2 separate regions of the Homo sapiens genome follow, and region 1 is linked to region 2. The links are contacts of gene promoters, found by promoter capture Hi-C in human tissues and cell types (Jung and others, 2019). All regions are on one chromosome and are shown on one strand. Each heading gives the region's core, a stretch centred on a gene start or on the middle of the fragment in contact. The rest is flanking DNA. Distances are from core to core; before and after follow the strand shown.

The links. The method cuts DNA at HindIII sites, captures the fragments that hold promoters and counts their contacts. A contact is called where the count stands out against the background at its distance.
Region 1: a contact is called between a fragment that was not itself captured here and the fragment with the promoter of GRID2 in region 2, in 1 of the 25 tissues and cell types used here (dorsolateral prefrontal cortex).

The regions. Positions count from the first base shown.
Region 1 is chr4:90,387,549-90,391,857 of GRCh38, reverse strand. All of the region lies in intron 3 of CCSER1 (coiled-coil serine rich protein 1), which reads right to left. Among named protein-coding and RNA genes, the nearest start is that of CCSER1, 260 kb to the right of the region's middle. The HindIII fragment of the contact is 5,574 bases long and covers 1-4,309 here.
Region 2 is chr4:92,301,558-92,306,339 of GRCh38, reverse strand. It overlaps GRID2 (glutamate ionotropic receptor delta type subunit 2), which reads right to left and starts at 2,374. Exons shown (of 16, transcript NM_001510.4): 1 at 1,596-2,374. The coding sequence starts at 1,683. RefSeq lists a silencer at 548-842. The HindIII fragment of the contact is 11,112 bases long and covers 1-3,125 here.

The DNA of each region.
Region 1 (4,309 bases), core at 637-3,136, 1.9 Mb after region 2:
AGAGTTAAAATATTTAAAACTTTCACATATAAAAAAAATCTGGGAAAAGTGATTATTTCTAACCTTCATTCTTCTTTGTGTACTAGAGGAATTGAATATTTCAGTAACAAAGTGTACTTCATTACCTTCTAATCTGTGTTCCCATAAACTTCTGCCAGCCACCATTCTAGTTCCTCAACTCTCATTTATAATTTGTTCTACACACTACTCATTACCCATTTGTAAAATATAAAACCACAATGACATACGATCTCACTCTAGTTAAAATGGCTATTATTACTATTGATGTTTTTAAATTGTTTATTTTTAATTTTATGAGTACACAGTATATATATATATATATATATATATATTTACCCACTGTGTGTGTGTATATATATATATATATATATATATATATATATATATATATACCCCCATATATTTATATATATAGGGTACATGAGATATTTTGATACAAGCCTACAATGTGTAATAATCACATCAGGCTAAATGGGGTATTCATCACCTCAAACATTTATCATTTCTTTGTGTTACAAACAAAAGGGCTACTTCTTTTTCTTTTTTTTTCTTTTTTTTTTTTTTGAGACAGAGTCTTGCTCTGTCGCCCAGGCTGGAGCGCAATGGCACGATCTCGGCTCACTGCAACCTCCGCCTCCCAGGTTCAAGAGATTCTCCTGCCTCAGCCTCCCGAGTAGCTGGGATTACAGGCACATGCCACCATGCTCAGCCTTTTTTTTTTTTTTTTTGTATTTTTAGTAGAGGGGAGTTTCATCATGTTGGCCAGGCTGGTCTTGAACTCCTGACCTCAGGTGATCTGTCCGCCTCAGCCTCTCAAAGTGCTGGGATTACAGGCATGAGCCACCATGCCCAGCCCAGAAGGGCCACTATTAAAAAGTCAAAAAACAAGAGATCCTTGCAAGGCTGCACAGAAAAAGGAACAGTTGTACATTGTTGGTGGGAATGTAAACTAGTTGAGCCACTATGGAAAAGAGTTTGGAGATTTCTCAGAGAACTTAAAACGAAATTACCACTCAACTCAGCAATCCCATTACTGGTATATATCAAAAAGAAAATAAATAATTCTACCAAAAAGATATATACACTTGTATCTATGTTAATTGCAGCACTATTCACAATAGCAAAGACATGGAATAATCCTAGGACCCCATCAATGGTGGACTGGATAAAGAAAATGTGGTGCATATACACTATGGAATACCACACAGCCATAAAAAAGGACAAAAGCATGTCTTTTGCAGCAACATGGATGGAGGCGGAGGCCATTATCAACTTAAATCAGGAACAGAAAACCAAATATAGCATATCCTAACTTATAAGTGGGAGATAAACATTGGGTAATACTGGTCAAAAAGATGGCAACAATAGACACTGGGGACTACTTGGCATGTGGGAGATAAAGGGTCAGAAGGGTGAAAAACCTAACCACTGGGTACAATGCTACCTACCTGGGTGATGGGATCTATTGTACCTCAGACCTCAGCATCATGATACCCATGTAACAAACCTGTGCATGTACCCCCGAATATTCAATAAAAGTTGAAATTAAGAAATGAAAAATACAGTTCTCATTTGTATATATTCACTGCCCAACACACAAAAAGATGTAAATGGTATGTGTCTACAGAACACTAAACAGTAAATCCCTTGTTACTCAAATGCCTACATTATCTCTACCTCTGCAAAATTGATTCCTGCAGACTTTAGCCAAACATACTGCCTTCTAAAAATGTCATTTGAATTTCTTTCATTGCACCTTTACTGAGTGTATCCCCTTTTCTCAAATGCCGGTAGAGTAAACACAAGGTAATATATCTAGATTTTATTATATGACAGATTTTCTTTACAATACATATAATAGGTGCTAAAAATGCCTCATGATAATGACAGACAAGTTAAAAAGCTTTTCTCAAAAGAATTACCTTTATGAGAGCATTGCTTAAGGCCAAGAGTTGGAGACCAGCCTGGGCAACATAGCAAGACTGCATCTCTATAATACTTTTAATTAAAAAAAAACTAGAAATTAAAAAATACTTGTTTTTATGTTCAGCATGTGCTGGACTCACAGAACAGACACACCATGTGCTGTGTCCACTTAAGTAGAAGATAGTTACAAAGGAATAAATACGGACTATTTATTGTACTTCCTGCTAGAAAAGTCTGGAGAAATATAACTATCTCACTCTTTGTGCTCCATCTGATCAGTTCTTGAGGTTTCAGAGTCTCTACTGTTGTATCACTATAATGTAAAGAAAATAATATCTCATTTACCTAATAATATCCCATTATGATGTCACTAAATGATAATAATAACTCATTTAATTACAGGAAATGAGATGTCATGTTTCCAAACTATTTTGATGAAGAACAGCAGTTTCCTTTTTAAAGCATCATTTTTTATAATATGTTGGTTATTTTGATGAAAATACATTATCCAGAAAAAGCACTCATATGTAATACAGAGGAATGTTTAAAGACATTTACTTGCTATATAGCCCTATACTTGCTTAGTTGTCTTAGCATTTCCGAGTAATGCTTGCTTTTTTTCCCTAAAGTTGTCATGTCAGCCTCACTGGAAATGTTTATTTTTCACAACTGTCAGTGTGTATAATTCTGAAAATTGTATGAATTTCCCATCACGTTATTATCTCATCATATGCTGGAGTTAGCCAAAGAGAACCTAATACATTAACTTGTTAAACCAGTGGCCATAATGTTAATCACAAAGCAAAATTAAGACCTTCTTGTTAAAAATCGTTGTAGTTCTTAAAAAATGGACATTTTTGTGGCATGGATATTTTTCCTGTAATTAAGATACAAGTTTTATTCTAAGTTTATCTTTGAATATACAATACTATGAGATAAACATCTTACTAATTTATAAGTTAATATTTATCATAGGGCCAGGTGAGGTGGTTCACGCCTGTACTCCCAGCACTTTGGGAGGCCAAGGCGGGCAGATCTCCTGAGGTCAGGAGTTCAAGACCAGCCTGACCAAAATGGTGAAACCCAGTCTCTACCAAAAATACAAAAATTAGCCAAATGTGGTGGCAGGCACCTGTAATCCCAGCTACTTTGGAGGCTGAGACAGGAGAATCCGTTGAACCGAGGAGATGGAGGTTGCAGTGAGCCAAGATCACGACATTGCACTCCAGCCTGGGTGACAAGAATGAGACTTCGTCTCAAAAAAAAAAATTATCATAATATTTAAAAATAAACATCAAATGGGCCGGGCGTGGTGGCTCACGCCTGTAATTCCAGCACTTTGGGAGGCCAAGGCAAGCGGATCTCCTGAGGTCAGGAGTTCAAGACCAGCCTGGCTAAGATGGTGAAACCCCGTCTCTACTAAAAATACAAAATTTAGCCGGGCACAGTGTCAGGCACCTGTAATACCAGCTACTCAGGAGGCTGAGGCAGGAGAATCGCTTGAACCCAGCGGGCAAAGGTTGCAGTGAGCTGAGATCATGCCACTGCACTCCAGCCTGGGTGACAGAGACTCTGTCTCAATAAACAAACAAACAAACAAACAAACAAACATCACTTGTACTCAAGTGATACTTACTATGTCACTCTTGTGTCAAATAACACAGTATATAGTGGGAAACCCAAAATAATGAGATTGATAAACCTGATTTCTAACTCTGACCCAGTCACTAAAGCAGCCTTGTGAACTAAAGCAAATCATAAACTCCTTCATGCTTTTCCATAAAATGAAATATTAGAATAGGTATTACCTGCAAGCCGTTCAAGTCTAAAATGTTAACATCTATAAGACAACCAACATCTTCTTTCTCATGGTGATATACTAGCAAGAGATAGCCAAACTCAAAGTCTGAGAGCACAGTCCTCAAAACTGTCCTTGCTTTTGACACCAACAGCAAGATTGCAGGATTCACAAAACCACCCTCTAATGCAATCATTCACTGAAAGGACTCACAGAACTGGCTGAAAGCTATGTTTTTGGTTATGGTTTATTATGGAGGTAGGGTACAGATAAAATACCAGCCAAGGGAAAAGACACATAGGGTAGAAACTGGAAGGATTCAAATGTAAGCTTCTGTTGTACCCAGGACCTATTACCCTCCTGGAATTGATGTGTGGCAACATAGATGGAGTACTGCCAAAAAGGGAAGCTTGCCTGAGCTATAATGTCCAGAGTTTCTCATAAGGCTTCATTACTCAGGTATCATTGACTGATTGATTGATTGACTACATGGTTAATCTCAGCCTCCAAGTTGACTGATATTGCATGACCCAAAGCCACCATCCTAAATCACATGATTGATCT
Region 2 (4,782 bases), core at 1,125-3,624:
CAGGCAAAACGGGATCCAGCAGGCAAGCTATTAGTGCTTGACTTACTTAATGCACAAACGCTAGGTTTTCTGAATCCTGACCTCATTACCCCTTGCACAGAGACAGACAGTTCTACTGATATAAATGATAGAGAATGGCAGACATGTTTACAAAGACAGCCTCTGAGACCAAGAGAGGGAGCCCCCTGGAGCGGAGGGGCTGGCCACTGTGGGCGCGCACGCTAGACAGAAATCCCTCGCTTGGGCGGGCACAATCGCCACCTGCAGCAGATTCCCCTACCAGGAGTATGTGTACGTGCGTGTGTGTATGTGTATGCGTGTTGTGCGGTGGAGAAGCAGGGGTACAGAAAGGGGAGAAGCTGTGACCCATCTGTCGCCTCAATTTGCAGAACACCAAGCCATGCGTACAGATAAAAGTCCTGTGCCCAGAAAAATTCCCCCAAAGGGACCTCTCTGCAGCCCAGCAAAGAAACCTTGCTGGCTCGGTAAGCGAATTTCCGAAAAAGAAATCGTCGCATTAACGCAGAAAAGGCTGCAAGAGCCTGTCTCCCGCTCAGCTCTCACGGATTAGCAAGTGAGTAGAGTTGGAGCCTGAAGCTGCGAGCGCTGTGCATGATAATGACGCGCAGCCCCCCGCCCGCCCCTGCTCGCCGCGGCCAGTCCCGGCCCGTCTGGTTGCCAATAGGTGGGGCCACCAGCATCTCGGAGCCCGCTCGGCAGTCCTTCTCAGAGTCGCGGCCCGCAGTAGTCCCGGCGCCTTCGCTGTCTGCCTTGCGCGGCTACTCGGAGTTGACTGCGAGGCGAGGCGAGGCGAGGCAAGGCGGATATCTGCTAAGCAGACCTCGGGAGCAGCCTGCGCGCATTCGCTTCCCCGCGTTTCCCAAGCGCCCCGGGGTCAGTTTCGCCGCCGCGCCAGGCCCCGGGAGCGTGTCCGAGGAGGCGAGGCACGCGACAATCAGTCCTTGGCGACACTGCCGCCAGCCCCTCCTGCCACCGTCTCAAAGACTACACGCAAGGATCATAAAGCCAAGAAGATGTGAGAAGAGAGGGTGGCTGGGGGCGCATCCGGCACCCCCGTCACCATCGCACTAAGCTGCGGCGAACTCAGCCGGCTCACGTTGCAAAACCACCTGTTCGATCCGAAGGGAGCTCCCCCTACCCCCCAGCCCAGTTCTTTTCATCTCACAGGTGACAGCTTCTCTGCTCCCCCAAAGATAAATTTTTAAATGGAGCAAATGTACATCCGGGAAAAAAAATATGGAAGATAAGAGTCAATTAAACTCCCTTTCCCCACACACTTAGAATCCCCCTGCAGTTCCCAGCACACACTCACACTCAGGTCAACTCGAGACCCCCACGCATCCAGCCACATTCCACGAATCACTGCAAAACAACAGCACAAGTCAGTCGAGGTTCGAGCATCCACATCCTTTCAGAAAACTGAGCAAGTGTGAGGGAAGGGTAGCGGGAAGGGGCAATGAACTGAAGCCACCTCCAACAAGACACACAGAGACCGGAGAGGGGGAAAGCGAAGGGGAAACATTTGAGAACTGAAACGGTAAAAGTAACCACGAGCTGCACCAACACTTTCTTACCGATGTGAATGATCGAATCCGCATTCGCCGAGTCCCAGGTTCGAGACCACCAGACGGACAAAACCAAGAGAAAGGGGAAAACTTCCATCTCCTCCTATGCCGATTCTCTTGGAGGATGGATTTTCTTCCAATTTTTTTTTTTTCAAACAGTCCAAAGAGTTTGAGGTCACGGTGGAGTTTAGCGCAGCTTTTTCTTTTTTTCTAAATTCCTATTGCCAGAGCAAAGCCTTTTATCGTCGCCGAGAAAGGCAGAAGGGAATGACAGAAAGAGCCCAGCCTGAGGAAACCTCCTTCGCAAAGCCGTGTCACTTGGAGGGGAATTTTGGCATCGCCAGAGTTGTTTGCAGTTTGGCTTTTGAAAAATATATCCAGCCTCTACTGCTCTTGGGCAGGGGGAGAGGCTGGGGCTCAGATCAGACCCATCGCTGCGCGGGGGCCGCGGGTCTCCGGTCCCAGCTCCGCTGCAACTTCCAACACCCCCCTCACGCCGGATGTGCCCCCTTCCCCGCACCCTCTCGGACCAAAAAAGACCCCCGCCCCCGCCCCTACAGCCCGCAGAGAATCACTGGTCTTCGCTGCCAGAATCTAAGTGGAAAGGAAAGATTAGGAGATTCCAAACGGAGCAGCCAGATTCCACCAGGGAGGGGGGAAAAAAGCCCTCTCCAAGAGGGGTAGAAAAAGTGAACTTCAAGGTAATGCAGATAGTAATGCAGAGAAAATTCCCTTTCTGCGTGAGGCGCGGAACGCAGCTTGGCGAGGCGGGCCCGGGGAGCCGGTTTGCTGGGGCGCGGTGGCGGGGGGGTTGCGCCGGGCGCGAGCAGCGGGGCCGGGCCAGAGGAGGGAAGCCGCCGCAGGCTGCAGGATGCTTTTGGAGCGTTTCGCCTGGCGGGATGCAGGAAGCAAGGAGCGAGCCTGGCAGCTTCAGCACCAGCCCCACGTTGCCTAGAAATGGATCACCTAGGAGAAGGAGCGAGCCTGCGAGAGAGCGGTGCTGTCAGGCGGAGAGAGGGGGAAACCAAGAGAGGAAGAGCTTCTCTCTAATAACCACCTCCTCCCCCTATCTGCAATACAAGGGAGAAACAAAATAGTGCTCTCATTTCCCATGGAATCTTCAACCGGGACTGAGAAAAAGGCAGGACTGTAAAAAGACATTGAAGCTTTTTTTTTCCTTTCTTTATTTTACGAGGTTAAATGCAACCTAAAAAAGCCACCCCACTTATTTAACCTTGCTATTCTCTAACAGGTATCAGACTTTTTCTAGTCTTTGCCTGGAATTAGTCACATTGGTTGAAAACAAATTAGGGACACCTGGTCACTTAGGGAAATACAGACCTAGAAAGCTTTTAATGAGATTTCAATTATAAAGTTATAAAAAGGAGAGAACGTGCTAATTACCTTTTATACAATGATTTTTTTTTTCTGTCTCCAGTGTATTTTTTAGGCAATCAGGATAGAGAAAGGTTCCTGAAATCCTTTCTATTGATAGAAATTCTTCTCTATCAGGATAGAAAAGATCTTGAAATTAAAATAAAAAAGCAGAATAATTAAATAAAACAGAAAAATTTTTCATAAACATTTGGTCAAAATATTTCATTGAGTAGCTTAATAACCTATGTAGATAAATTCCGAATGAGGAAGTTGGGTACTCTCTTCCATGGAAAAAGCTGAGGAAGTCCTGAATGACAGCCTCTCAGTCTCCAGTGAAAGGATTTTCTGCAAGCTTATTCCTTAAGATAAAATCCTGATCATTGTGACTTCTTTTCTTATAATGATTGACTTATGTCAATCTGGCCTCATTGCAAACTGAAGATTTGTTAACACAATCGAGTGACTAGTCGAGGTCAGGTATTAATGTCATAATATTGTCTCAGTTATAATTGGAATTCTTTAGGAATGTTGGATGTGTGGATGTCAAGCTCATTACACAACCTTTCAAAGCCTTACCTCCAAGTTTGGCAAACCTCTTTTCCTCCCGTTCCCTCACTTGAGCCCTTCTCTCTAGCCTTCTGAATTGGGTTACTATTTTTCCAGACACAGTTGTACATTCTCACTTCTGGCTGTTTTCATTCATCTTGTACACTTTTTCCTGAACATTCCAGAAAATGTTTTGCTGCCATATTTTTACTTATGTTAATATTTCTGCTTGGAAAGCACGTATTTGTCCTCCCAACCACTCTCCTTCACCATCTCAAGGGCTAGTTCAAATTCCTTTTGCCCATGAAGTAGTGTCCAGTCCTTTAATGTGGAATAAATCCATCTATCTTCTATGCTGTCGTAACACACCCTATTTTGTATTAGAGTTAGACAGAACTACTACTAAGTTAGATCATAAATGCCTTGAGAGTGAAAACCAAAGCTCATTCACATTTTATTCAACACAGCATTTTACAGAGAACCCCTTTGTTGACTTGAATTTCATCACTTCCTTCTGAATCTGGAACAAACCAGTGCTTCCAAGAAGCATTCACTGATTAATTACTCTCAATTTTGATCATTCTCTTATCTTTTGTTTCCATTAGTAGACATTGACTCAATATTGATTATATTAATGTTGGTGTTAATGTCATTTTACTTTATAAAGTGTTTTGATGCAATTCCATAGATTATACTTTGCTTATTCAGATAATGAATTGAAAGAAGAGATGCACTCCCCATAGCTTCCTTCAAATATTATTTACAGTGACATTCTAAAAATTGGTAAGTCATTATGTATTCTATCAAGAAAAATTATAACCATTTAACATGGAAAGAACACCATGATATCTTAGAATAAGATAACTAGGAAGAACTTCAGAGCATTAACTAGTCCAGTCCTGGCTAATGAGTATCTGTCCTGGAGAAAGTCAAATATTGTATAGTCATATTCATACTATTTCCCCTCTTGGAAATGTTTTAGTGTACTGTGAGCAAAGCATTTTCATTATTCCCAAATCCTCCAGTTTAGTAGTTTTCAAATGTAGATTCACTTTGAAATAATCTGAGAAGCTTTTTAAAATGGTCACTTAAGGCTAATTTAATCAGAATCTCTGGAGTTTGGGACACAGCCTGTAATATATTCTAAAAGCCTCTATACAGGGCTCTGCTATGCAGCCATAGTTCAGAATCACTGTTCTAATACTCAGACATTTAAATGAGTCTGGGTGACACATCAAAAAAAGCCCTTAAGGTATAATGACCACTCCTGCCA